Regions from separate parts of the Homo sapiens genome. Here all the other regions are linked to region 2. Evidence: promoter capture Hi-C in human tissues and cell types (Jung and others, 2019). All regions are on one chromosome and are shown on one strand. The core of a region is centred on a gene start or on the middle of the fragment in contact, and the rest is flanking DNA. Distances in the headings are between cores, read along the strand shown.

The links. The method cuts DNA at HindIII sites, captures the fragments that hold promoters and counts their contacts. A contact is called where the count stands out against the background at its distance.
Region 1: a contact is called between a fragment that was not itself captured here and the fragment with the promoter of DDIT4L in region 2, in 2 of the 25 tissues and cell types used here (adrenal gland and bladder).
Region 3: a contact is called between a fragment that was not itself captured here and the fragment with the promoter of DDIT4L in region 2, in 2 of the 25 tissues and cell types used here (mesenchymal stem cells and mesendoderm cells).

What each region holds. Positions count from the first base shown.
Region 1 is chr4:100,376,837-100,380,962 of GRCh38, forward strand. No RefSeq gene overlaps it. Among named protein-coding and RNA genes, the nearest start is that of SNORA101A, 16 kb to the right of the region's middle. The HindIII fragment of the contact is 3,210 bases long and covers 767-3,976 here.
Region 2 is chr4:100,188,620-100,193,156 of GRCh38, forward strand. DDIT4L (DNA damage inducible transcript 4 like) reads right to left here and starts at 1,849. Exons shown (of 3, transcript NM_145244.4): 1 at 1,684-1,849; 2 at 1,274-1,413. The coding sequence starts at 1,364. It overlaps DDIT4L-AS1 (DDIT4L antisense RNA 1), which reads left to right and starts at 1,414. Exons shown (of 5, transcript NR_125924.1): 1 at 1,414-1,455; 2 at 4,347-4,430. The HindIII fragment of the contact is 5,141 bases long and covers 1-4,446 here.
Region 3 is chr4:100,024,268-100,028,204 of GRCh38, forward strand. H2AZ1-DT (H2AZ1 divergent transcript) reads left to right here. Exons shown (of 4, transcript NR_125923.1): 2 at 1,015-1,060. Among named protein-coding and RNA genes, the nearest start is that of H2AZ1-DT, 76 kb to the left of the region's middle. The HindIII fragment of the contact is 5,131 bases long and covers 1-3,937 here.

The DNA of each region.
Region 1 (4,126 bases), core at 1,122-3,621, 190 kb after region 2:
TTGGTGTTTGATTCCTAAGGAACTCACATGTTTGACTATCAGAAATAGAATGTTCAATTGAGAAAACTCTCACCTTCATTAATTCTCTCTCGGTTCTTCTCTACCCCATTATCATTCAATTTTTAAATTTTCCTTCTGCCGATCCTTTAAGTGTTGGTGTTTTCACTGTTTTATTGTCACCATGTGAACTCTTCCTGCAACTCTTCAATCACCATGTACGAGGGGTCTTCAAAAAGTTCACGAAAAATGCATACTATGAAAAAACTATGTATGAATTTCAATTTCTCTTGCACCAAAAAAAATTATACTAACTTGTTATAACATGTCTGAACAGGATTTAGTTTGAGGCATTAAGAGGGTTAAGACATCAGTTTGAAAAGTGTCCCTATCAAGGCAATATGAATTCTGCTAAGATTGAAGCATGAACAAACATCAAATTTAGGTGAAGCTTGGGTGAAAGAATGGTGAAAATCACTGATGCTTTATAAAAAGCCTTCGAGGATAGTACCCCAAATAAATCAGCAGTTTACAAATGGATAACTAATGTTAAAAAGTGATGAGACAATGTTAAAGATGAAACCCACAGGGACAGACCATCCACATCAATTCATGAGGAAAAAAGTTCATCTTGTTCATGCCCTAATTAAAGAGGACTGACAATTATCAGCAGAAAGAATAGACAACAGCCCAGCTTACACAATTCTGACTGAAAAAATTAAAGGTGAGCAAACTTCCACTCGATGGGTGCCAAAACCATTGGGCCCAGATCAGCTACAGACAAAAGCAGAGCTTTCAATGGAAATTTTAAACAAGTGGGATCAAGATCCTGAAGCATTTCTTCGAAGAATTATAACAGGAGATGAAACATGGCTCACCAGTACAATCCCAAAGACAAATCACAATCAAAACAATAGTTACCAAGAGGTGGAAATGGTTCAGCCAAAGCAAAAGTGAACTGGTCAAAAGCAAAGGTCATGGCAACAGTTTTTTAGGATGCTAAAGGCATTTCACTTGTTGAGTTTCTGGAGAGCTAAAGAACAACAATATTTGCTTATTATGAGAGTGTTTTGAGAAAGTTAACCAAGCTTTTGCTGAAAAACAACTAAAGAAGCTTCACCAGAGAGCCCTTCTCCACCACAACAATGCTCCTGCTCCTTCAAAAAGGGCAATTTTGCGAGTTTCAATGGAAATTCATTAGACATCCACCTTACAGTTCTGATTTGGCTCCTTCTGACTTCTTTTTGTTTCCTAATCTTAAAAAAAAATTAAATGTCACTCAGGTTTCCTTCATTATTAATGTGAAAAAGACTGCATTGACATGGGTAAAATCCCTGGACCCTCAGTTCTTTAGGGATGGACTAAATGGTAGTATCTTCACTTACAAAAGTGTCTTGAATTTGATGGAGCTTATGTTGAGAAATAAAGTTTATATCTTTCTTTTTATTTTTTAGTTCAATTTTTCCACAAACTTTTTGACATTTTCTCATATATGCTGATGACTTCTAAGTCTATATTTCCAGTTGGGATATTTCTCCTGAGATCCAGGCATCTAATTCTTCCCACAAGTCCACTTAACCCAAAATATGTGTATAACAAATATGTATTGCAAACTCTACTTCTTCAAAATCAAATTCACTCTCAGTTCTCTTATGTTTTTAAAATTGATCCAACCAGTCATTTAAGTGGGTCATCTGGGAAGCATCTAAGGGATATCTCCTTTGCTCATCTTTTATATCTTAAACACCATAGAATTCTGTCAATGTTTTCATTATTCTTCCCTTATGGTAATTGTCTTAGTCCAGGTACTAATAAAATTTAAATGAAACTATTTTAATAACACCACACACACACAGACACACACACACACACACACAGACACATTCACAACACTAGACCAGGGCCTCTTAATAGCATCAATTTTTATCTAATTTTTGCTTTTATGGAACTTATTTCTAGGTGCTAAATATTTATTGAATAGATATTTAATGGGACTAAAATTTATTGAATTATGAATGTCCTTATTTTTTAAAACAAGATAGAGGCTTTGGCATTTAGTTTCTCTTTTCTTTTCTTTTCTTTTCTTACCTTTTCTTTTCTTTTCTTTTTTCCTTTCCTTTCCTTTCCTTTCCTTTCCTTTCCTTTCCTTTCCTTTCCTTTCCTTTCCTTTCCTTTCTTTTTGTTTTCCTTTCCCATCTTGTACCTTCTTTGGAGGTTTCTTGCAGGTTCTTTGGGATTTTGTAACAGAGAACTAGAATAAGAAGAAAAAAAGAGAGACATGGGATAGGGATCATCATGGCGGACGGGAGGCAGGACTAGATTGCAACTCTGACTGGGACAGACAGAGCATGGTTCGGAGGATGGCATTGTAAACTTTAGCTTCAGATTGACTGCAAGAACAAACCAGCAATACTGAGAGGACCCACAGACCCTATGAAGGAAGTGAACTGCTCCTACAGGACCCAGGAGACACCACAAATACTGTGAGTGCCTCAACTGCGGTAGAGGAAAAGGGAGAGCCTCCTCTCCTGAACACACACCCTCACTGCAGAAACTGAAAGTCTGTTTGTGTGGAGGAGCTTCCAACCTTACCTGGAACTGAGTCAGTTTAGAGAGTCAAGTGAAATACAGGGATAGAGAAAGCAGCAGAATGGCTCTGGGAGCTCACTAGGTCCCCAGGCAGGCCATTCCTGCCTGGCACCACAGGGATCCATCAGGAGGGCAGCCAGAGGAGTGAGGGGGAAAACTGCATAGGGAGAAGGAAATCTCCAGCTGATCTTTGTAACAATTTGAACAGGGCGAGAAGCCTCCTGGCCAGAACTCTGGGGAGGGCACAAATCCTATGTGTAGACTCCACAGGCAGAGGAAGAACCAAGCCCCTTTCTTTTGCAGCTGGGAGGCAAGTAGTCTGGGGCAAATTTTCAAGCCTAGCTCACCCACCACCTGGAAACAGAACTCAGGCCTATTGGGGCAGGGGAATGGTGAGAGTGAGACCAGCCCTTCGGTTTGCATGGAAGCTGGGCGAGGCTGGCTTTCCCCCACTTCCCTGACAACCTGCATGACTCAGCAGAGGCAGCAAAATTCCTCCCAGGTACATAACTCCATGGACTTGGGTATCTCACTCCCATCCCTCACAGCAGCCGCAGCAAGACCTGCCCAAGAACAATCTGACCTCAGACACGCCTAGCCCTGCCCCCACCTGATAGTCCTTCCCTACCCACCCTGGTAGTGAAAGACAAAGGGCATATAATCTTGGGAGTTCTAGGGACTTGCCCATCACTAGTTCCTCTTCCTACTATCACAGCTGTGCTCTCTGGAAAGTGCCACTTCCCAGGAGTAGGCCAACAAGCATAAAAATAGAGCATTAAACCACCAAAGCTAAGAACTCTCATGGAGTCCATTGCAACCCTTAACCACCTCCACCTGAACAGGTGCTAGTATCCATGGCTGAGAGACCCATAGATGGTTCACATCACAGGACTCTGTGCAGACAACCCTCAGTACCGGTCCAGAGCCAGGTAGACTTGCTGGGTGGCTAGACCCAGTAAAGAGACAACAATCACTGCACTTCAGCTCACAGGAAGCCACATCCATAGGAAGAGAGGGGAGTACTACATCAAGGAAACACCCTGTGGGACAAAAGAATCTGAACAACAGCCTTCAGCCCCAGACCTTCCCTCTGACACAGCCTGCCCAAGTGAGAAGGAACCAGAAAACCAACTCTGGTAATACAACAAAACAAGCTTCTTTAACACCGCCACAGAATCCCACTAGTTCCTCAGCAATGAATCCAAACCAAGAAGAAATCCCTGATTTACCTGAAAAGAATTCAGGAGGTTAGTCATTAAGCTAATCAGGGAGGCACCAGAGTAAGGCAAAGCCCAGTGCAAGGAAATCCAAAAAACAATACAAGAAGTGAAGGGAGAAATATTCAGGAAATAGATAGCTTAAAGAAAAAAAATCTAAAATTCAGAAAAAATTGGACAAACTTTTAAAAATACAAAATACTCTGGAAAGTCTCAGCAATAGAATTGAACAAGTAGAAGAAGGAAATTCAGAGCTCAAAGACAACATCTTCAGGTTAACCCCATCCAACAAAGACAAGAAAAAAGAATAATAAAAAAATGAG
Region 2 (4,537 bases), core at 599-3,098:
AAGGGGTTGTTACTTTCTAACTGTAGGAATACATGTATTGTAAAATAAAGAATTTTTACTATTATGTTTGAAGAGTTGTATTAAAGCTTTAAGAGTTATATTAAAGATCTATCAAATTTGTGTCTTTAAGTCTTTACTGGAGTGGCCTGTAGGTCCCAATTTTAGCTTTAGCCTCTTTAATTAAAAATTGTGCAGAGAAGACCTTTGAGGTTCATGAGGATATTTGTAACCGGCTGGGTGGTTTTTCTTAGCCAAGCAAAACAAAATAGTCCTAGGGAAATAAAATTAGCTGGGCTCAAAGGAAAAGAGATAGCTCTGCATTTGGTCACCTACACCTCAAATTAATCCTACCCCTTGGCAGGATGCCACACCACACGGAGTCAAATGAACAAGGTGCAGGCAGATGCCCTCCCAGCTCCTCTCTCTAAGCCTACTCCACCTTCATCAGCCACTGGCTTTTCCTCTCCACTTCGTGTAAGTTTGGAGTTCTGGCCTGTAAATTAGGTCATCAACCACTTCACCTTGAAAGGAGAAAAACACGAAGAGCTTAAGCAGTTTATCTATGCTCTTACAGCTCTTTAGTGTCAGAGCAGTGTGTTCACCTAGAAACTGCTGTTAAAATTCCAAATGACAGCAAGTCAAGCACCGCTGCTGTTCAACAGTTTCCTTCTCACATTAAAAATGGAATAATGGATATATCCACGACTGAAAATCCTACTCAGTAATAAACAATAAACACGAACACACTGATTTAAGCAACGGACATAAAAGAATCTCAAAAACATTAGGCTGCGGGAAAGAAACCAGACACAAAAGAATACCTACTGTATGGTTCCACTTACCTAAAGGCAAAACTAACTTGGAATGATAAAAATCAGATCAGTAGTTCCCTGGAGTCAGGGGAGAGTGAGGAATACCTGGCAAATAGGTGCGTCGGAATTCAGGGGGAGGGGCGATATTGATTACAGGGTAAATACATTTGCTAAAACACACATAACTGTGTTCTTCACAATCATGTAAGATAAGGAACTTAATCCCAAGGGGCCTACTGGCACCAGACTAGAAAGATGCAGCCCTCGGGTATTCTACTTTTGCTACTTTTGTTTCTATCATGGAGAGAAGATGTTAGAAAATTTGGAAAGGAGTCTCCTCAGATGGATTTTGTGGCACCTCCTACATAGAGGTAGGGGAGGAAGTCGAAAGCCCGCCCACCCAATAGATCCAGAGGCACCGACCTTGGGAGGGGAGAAGGGTGGACAGCGGGGACACTCACCACTTAGCAGGCTCTCTGGGTGATAGCCACAGTCCAGCAATTCTGAAATGCTGGCCGGGTTCTTGCTGCTCAAACTGCCAGTTGCAACCATGGTCAACGGCTCTGTTTCCTTCGCGAGGCGCAACGGCCTTTCCTGAGCGCTGGAAAAAATGAGGCGAGAAGAGACGGATTTGCAAAAGCAGGCGAGTCGTGCAGAGGCTCCTAAAATGCCCGGCGTCCCGGGAGCGAACTAGCGGAGGAACTCCTTTGCCAAAGGGGTGGAACCGGCCTCTGCAACTCAATTTGACAAAGCCCTGGGAGCGGAGCCGCAACCTGAAACTAACTCAACAGTTCGCAAAACTTGGAAGCGACCTGCCCCGCGGAGCGCCCCCCGGCCCCGCTGCCCCCACCAAGGCCGCAGCTTCGCTCACCTGCCAGGAGTTCGCGGGGGCCTGCGCGCTCGCTGCCGGGTAAACACAGGCAGGTGGCTTCTTAGGAGTCCCCTCTCCTGGGGACTCGGTGACCTGCAGACCCCAGCAGCCAGCGGCACCCTGCTCACCCCTCCCGGGCCACCCTGCGCCGGCTCCTCGCAGTAGCATAGCCTCCGGGGCAGCGAGAACTTTATAGGTCCAGTCCCCACCCTGCTCAGGCCCGCCCACCTGCACCGCCCCTCCCCGGCCAGCGCCCCGCCCCTCCCCTCCAGAGTCTGGTCCCCTTTCAACCTCTACACTTCCAGGGAGCCCGAGCCTAGCCACAGGGAGTTGAGGATAAGCCTGTGGTAGAGCGGACACCTGTTGCTTCCAGGGTAGATCTCGGGCCACTGGGACCGCAATTCCGGGTGCACGACTCGTCAAAGCCTGAACCTGATTGTTCAGTGCGACCCCTCCCCGAGCGTCCGCGCTTTCACACTCAGGCTGCTCCCGGCAGCGGGAAGCTTTAAGCGATCTGTGCATTTCCTTGTCCTGGGGCTTTGCTGTGTCATCCTGAACACTTGGCTTAAATCTGTTGCAACGTCCACTGAGCATCATTTATGCACTTATTTCTGGCCTCTAACCCAGTCAACTCTACTCTGCCTCCCAGGGTTTCTGTATCCTCCTCTGCTGCAAGCGGTCAGATCTAGTTTTCCTTTCCCGCATCGAAGGCTCGCCAGCATTTTAAGAAGGGCCTTAATGACCCCACGCACTCCGTGGCTCCCTGGCATTCTTCGTGCACTTACATCTGTGGCTAATGCGTTTTCTTCGCAGGAAGGGTGAGCCTGGCACTCTTCTAATTAGACCTTGCCCCAGAGCGCGGGGAGCTTGAATTGAGCGGGAGTTTGCCAAGAAACACACAATACCATTAGTAGGATCTTAGGTACTCCTCTATCCGTGCATCGAGAGCAACTGTCATTTCCGGAGGCAGAAGTTTCTGGCGAGCCCTGTTGGGAGGATCTTTGGTTTGGGATATTTTGAAGAGGTTTCAGAGACTGAAGATAAAGAGTTTTATATTCTGCTGGGGATCAGCAGATAATCCCTGTGAGGGCTCCGTGCGGTCCTGCACAGGAACACACAGAGAGGCAGAGGAGCCCTGGAAAGAGGCAACATGCCCGCATAGCCCATGAGCAAGAAGCCAAACCTGATTTTTTTCTTCCAAAGTTATTAAGCCACGGTTTTCTCGCTTTGGTGTGCCAGTAGGAGATGATCTGTTCAGAGAGTCAGCTTGGGGTGCGTTAGGGGATGCCTGGAGGGAGAAGGTTGTTCCTACAGTAGAGATCCCAGTGTTGGCTCCCAGGCCCTCTAGGATTATGTGTAGAAGGATTTGCAGGTTAGAACCTTGAAAGGCAGTTTCAGCTGTCCTGGCATAAAACTCTTAGAAAAACAACAACAGAAGGGGTATAGAGGGTGTGATAAACAGATCAGTGGGAGGACATTCGGACGCAGAGCAGCAGAAATTAAAGCCAGCTTGACAGTCCATTTTTAACTCAGTTCAGGCAGCTGCACTGCCTGAAGGTCAGGCGAGCCAAGGAAGGAGATGCTGATAGACTGGTCTTTGAAGGCCAGTTTCCACTTCTACTTCAATAAACAGAAAAGTGGAAAATAAACAAGCCCATTTAAGCCAATTAAAAAGCGGTTTCAGTGGCTAGGGTGTTCAGGACCAATGGATGGGCCCATGGTCAGGAGTTGGATGCCAGCCGCCTGACAGTCAGTCCCTGGGCAGGCCACAGAGCCTCTTGTCCTTGTCTGGGCAGCATTACTAATGAGGCTGCCACTTAACCTGCCTCCAAGGAGGATTTTTAGAATTAATATAATGAGTGGTCTGAACCAATACTAGCGAAATAAAGAAATTACTCGTTTCAATTTCCTTAGGGTATTTAGGCATAATTCATAGAGTAAATGCCCCCATAGGGCCAGAAAGATTATTGGAACTTACAGAAAGTAGTAGTTGCTCTTGGCCCACCTGACTAAATGAAATTTTGCAAAGCCCTTTGGGATTTGACTTCAGAAAACAATTTACTTATGTACAAAAGACTTCAAATAATATCTTCTTGGCTGAATGGGCCTTGCTCTCAGGACATACAGGGCATAAGGAATGATTGAGGTAAAACACATACCTGGAATAATTAAGAATGTCCTTTTTTATCTACTTAAAAGCGTAGAAAATCCATTCTATCACCAGTTTGCATCTTCACAAGGTTAAACAGAACTGATTTTTTAAAAATTTGAAGCATAGAGAAGAATTAGGAAAAACTAAGTGCCATTATAGGCTAAGTGCAAGGTGACACAGTCTATCAGATTTCAGAAAAATGTGGATACAGTCAATTATTTATAACTGAAAGTTCGCATTGGGGAACTTCAGGTGTTTATTAAGTGCAGTGATAAAGAAGTTTGTTTTATTGCTCTTTCATTATATCCTCTAACTAATACTATATAAACAGTTTGTGGGAGTGCTTACTGGAAATAGTTGTGTATGAATAGAAAATCTAGTCAGTTAAATAATTTGATTTCCTTTCATACACCAATGTATTATAAGAAACTATCTAAATCATAGGCAAAGGCTTTAACTTAAGCATGCTTGCTTTTTTATTACTATAATTCACTAATCCATCTTCTTACAGAAAGAAAATGAGATAGCAGTAACAACTGGCAACCATATGTTCATCTGATGTATTTGCAAATATTTAAGTTCTAGGCTTCCTCAGGTATAAATATAGTATTCATAATGTCATTGCTTATGTAAAGTATAAATTCACAATGCCAGGGATACTGAAAAAACAAAAAGCAAAAATGATGCTTTCATGTATTATTA
Region 3 (3,937 bases), core at 389-2,888, 160 kb before region 2:
GAAGGGTGATGACAAAGCTCCTGCTAAGGCCCTGGTTCTTTTAGGAATTATCCTCATATTGTCAGCTCAGGCTATGGTTTGGGCTGTGAGATCTCATCTTCCTTCATCTTCTGTGGACCCACTGGCTTGCCAAGACCTCTTTAGGAACGAAGCAGTCTGAGGAAGTGCAGTCTGAGGGTCTGTCATTTCTATAGAAGCAGCTGGAGATATTGGGAAAATGGGCCAGGATTGTGGCTTCTCCAGACTGCAACAGAGCAGGACAGGAATTTTTCTCTGCTCCAAATCTCAGCCCCTCACCATGTCCCTGCCTAAACAACAAACACATACATTCTTTTTTTCACTTCCGCTTTTGCTTCTGCATCAGTTGTTTTTCTTTTACAAACTGTCAAGATCCTATTGATCAGCATCCAATTCATTTAATTATGCAATCCAGTTATCTTGTATCACCTAGGAAAAGTACATATAAGACTGTCTTAAAATAAAAGACTAGTGACAATAAAGATTTTTTGCCCAACAGAGGCCATTGAAGGATACACTTCCTCTTTAAATCATGTGAAATTCATCCTGGAATGCTTTTCTCATAGAATATACTCATTTCTTTCATATCTGAACCATAGCTGAAGTAGTAGATTCCCATGCTTTTCCTCCTGTCTCATTTTTCTTTTTTGTAGCTCCTGGCCACAGTGGGAGCCATGATCTCTCTCCTTTACATGTGGCTGTATTCCCAGAGCTTTCATTTCCATGTGGCACATTTTTATGCTCATTTTGGGTACCCCAGTGCTCAGCATATTGTTAGGCAAAGATACGTGAAAAGTAAGGTAACTTTGTTTCTCTGGTGCTATTCCACTGGGGGAAAAGAGGTGGGGAGAGATTTGCTGGTTAGAGTTCTAAAAGTAATGGCAAAAACCACAATTAACTTTGCACCAACCTAATATATCTGTAGGCTTATAGGTTTTAGCATTAAGCAGTTAATTGAGTCCGTTTTTAAAAATATAATATCTTTTGTTTACCTAGGAGCTGGTGTAGTGAAGGATGAAGAGAAGGCAATGCATTGGTTTAGGTAAGATGATGACATCTGCCCAAAAGCAAAGCTTCAGAGTTACCTGTTCAGAAAGTACAGGTTGAGCATCCCTTATCCGAGATGCTTGAGACCAGAAGTGTTTTGGATCTTGGATTTTTTTTAATTTTTTTATTTTGAAATATTTGTATTATACTAACTGGTTGAGCATCCCTAACCTGAAAATTCAGAATCTGAAATGCTCCAGTGAGATTTTTCTTTGAGGGTCATGTTGGTGCTCCAAAACTTTCAGATTTTGGAGCATTCAGATTCAGATTTTCTGATTAGGGATGCTCAACCTATGCTGAAATAGAAAACCTTATAATTTTGGTGCTCTTTCCCTAGAGCAAAAATAAGCTAGAGATCTTAATATTAAAGTCTTGGTACCCTTTTTACTTTTTCCACTTGGTGATGAGGTAGGAGTACTGGTGGAGCTATGGAGAGGGCGGGGCCAATGCATTTTAAAACAGTCTACACAATGTAAGCAAAGAGCAGATTAGATTCAAAAGAGCCAAACTGGGGAACGTGGACCAATCTAGGTCAAGATTCAGAATATCAATAAGTTTATTAACAATGTTCTGTGTTAACGTTACTTTGGTTATTAAGGTTTTGAGCTCTTGACTATAAAACATACACTAATTTGAAATTTACAAACTGGGCTACATGTTAGAATCACCTGGGGAGCTTCTGAAAAATGCTGATGCCCAGCTCCAGATTGATTTAAATGAGCAGAAAATGATTCCTAGGTGAGTGTAATATGCTGCCAGCTCAAACTACTCCAGAAGTCTATAATGGTTAATAAAGTAAACATGAACCAGCAGAAGAAGGCATTTCAGGAACATATTCTAAAGCTTAAAATCGATATTCTGATAAAGTTCACCTGACAACAGAAGAAACACCTTTGAGAATCAGGAAGGGAGTGACATGGTTCCAAAGTGGCAAAGTGTCGTTGGTGATTAACTGCACTTGGCTGAAGTGCTTGCCACTGGGAGTATAGTCCGTACACCCAGAGCATTGGCATCGCCAGGTGGGCACTTGGTAGGAATGCAGTCTCTGAGGCTCTAACACAGACCCACTGAAGTAGAATCTTCATTTTAATAAGTTCCTGGGGTGACTGATATGCACTCTCCGATATTGTAGCCAACAGCCACAATGTGGCCATATAAATGTAAATGAATTAAAACTAAATAAAATCAGAATTTTAGTTCATAGTTGCACTGTCTACATTTCAAGTATTCAATAGCCAGTACTGGCTACTGTACTGGACAGTGCAAATATAGATCGATTCTATCTTTGGTAAAAATTCTACTGGAAAGTACTAGCAATTTACATTTATGTTTCAGCAATTGGAAATAGTGCTTAAGGGTCAGTTTACGTGTTATTGAATTTCTAACATTCCCAGATAGTCCTTTCCAGCATTTTGATTGCCTGTATAGTTTGGAGAAAAGAGTATAATTATATTAATATTTGGAAAAGCTGATGAATTGATTGAAACAAATACGCAACTAATTTTTTTAAAAGTACTGTACTTGTTTCAAGTAAGAAAAACATTTTTTTTTTTTTTGAGACAGAGTCTCCCTCTGTCACCCAGGCTGGAATGCAGTGGCGTGATCTCAGCTCACTACAACCTCCTCCTCCTGGGTTCAAGCAAGCCTCAGCCTCCCAAGTAGCTGGGATTATAGGCATGTGCCACCATGCTCGGCTAATTTTTTTTTTATTTTCAGTAGAGACTGGGGGTTAGTCAGGGTTCTCTAGAGGGACAGAACTAATAGGATAGATATTTATATATAAAGGGGAGTTATTAAGTAGTATTAACTAACATGATCTCAAGTCCCACAGTAGGCCATCTGCAAGCTGAGAAGCAAGGAAGCCTGTCTGAGTCCCCAAGCTGAAGAACTTGGAGTCCAATGCTTAAGGGCAGGAAGCATCCAGCATGGGAGAAAGATGTAGCCTGGGAGGCTAAGCCAATCTAGCCTTTTCACATTTTTCTGCCTGCTTTTATCCTAGCTGCGACAGCAGCTGATTAGATTGTGCCCACCCAGATTAAGGGTGGGTCTGCCTTTCCCAGCCCACTAACTCAAATGTTAATCTCCTTTGGCAACACCCTCACAGACACACCCAGGATCAATCCTTTGCATCCCTCAATCCAATCAAGTTGACACTCAGTATTAACCATCACAAGTCCACCCCTTGTCAACTTTAACCGATACACATCTCCTGAGATCATACATAATCTTCAAATAAAAGCAATAATAAGCTCATAATTATGCCTAACATAATGCAACTATCCTTCATACAGCCAGAAATGCACCACTCCCCAACCCAAATACTCTTACATAAAGTTAATGATGCTCGAATGCTGATATGAAGTAAATAAATCTTATGTCACATGATAAACGAAAAAGGAAATAAAATGAAGTTATTTTCTTAGTACAAGTGTATATATGCACACACATGTTTTTAACAAAAGAAGGAGGAAATACTCATGACAATTACAGTCTCCATTTCTGCAACTGGTCACGGGGCCATTGATGATTACCTTCTTCTACTACCCATTCGTATTTCCTTTACCTTCATCAAGCACCTTAGCAGATCATGGTTTTTTTCCTACCTTCTTCTGCTACTCATTCGTATTTCCTTTGCCTTCATCAAGCACCTTAGCAGGTCATGGTTTTTTTCTTGGTGGAGTGACCCAAACCTTCATTCCTGAATGGTCTGGGCCAACTGCCTGGATTGGGCTATTGTAGTTTCCCATTGACCTTAATCACAAAGCATGATAATACTAAGAGACATCCTAAGGGATCTCCTGTATTCCATACATACTCTTCCTTACCTCTGTTGTGGAGTAGTAGACTGACTTCATCTTGATAGCCCGGGTCA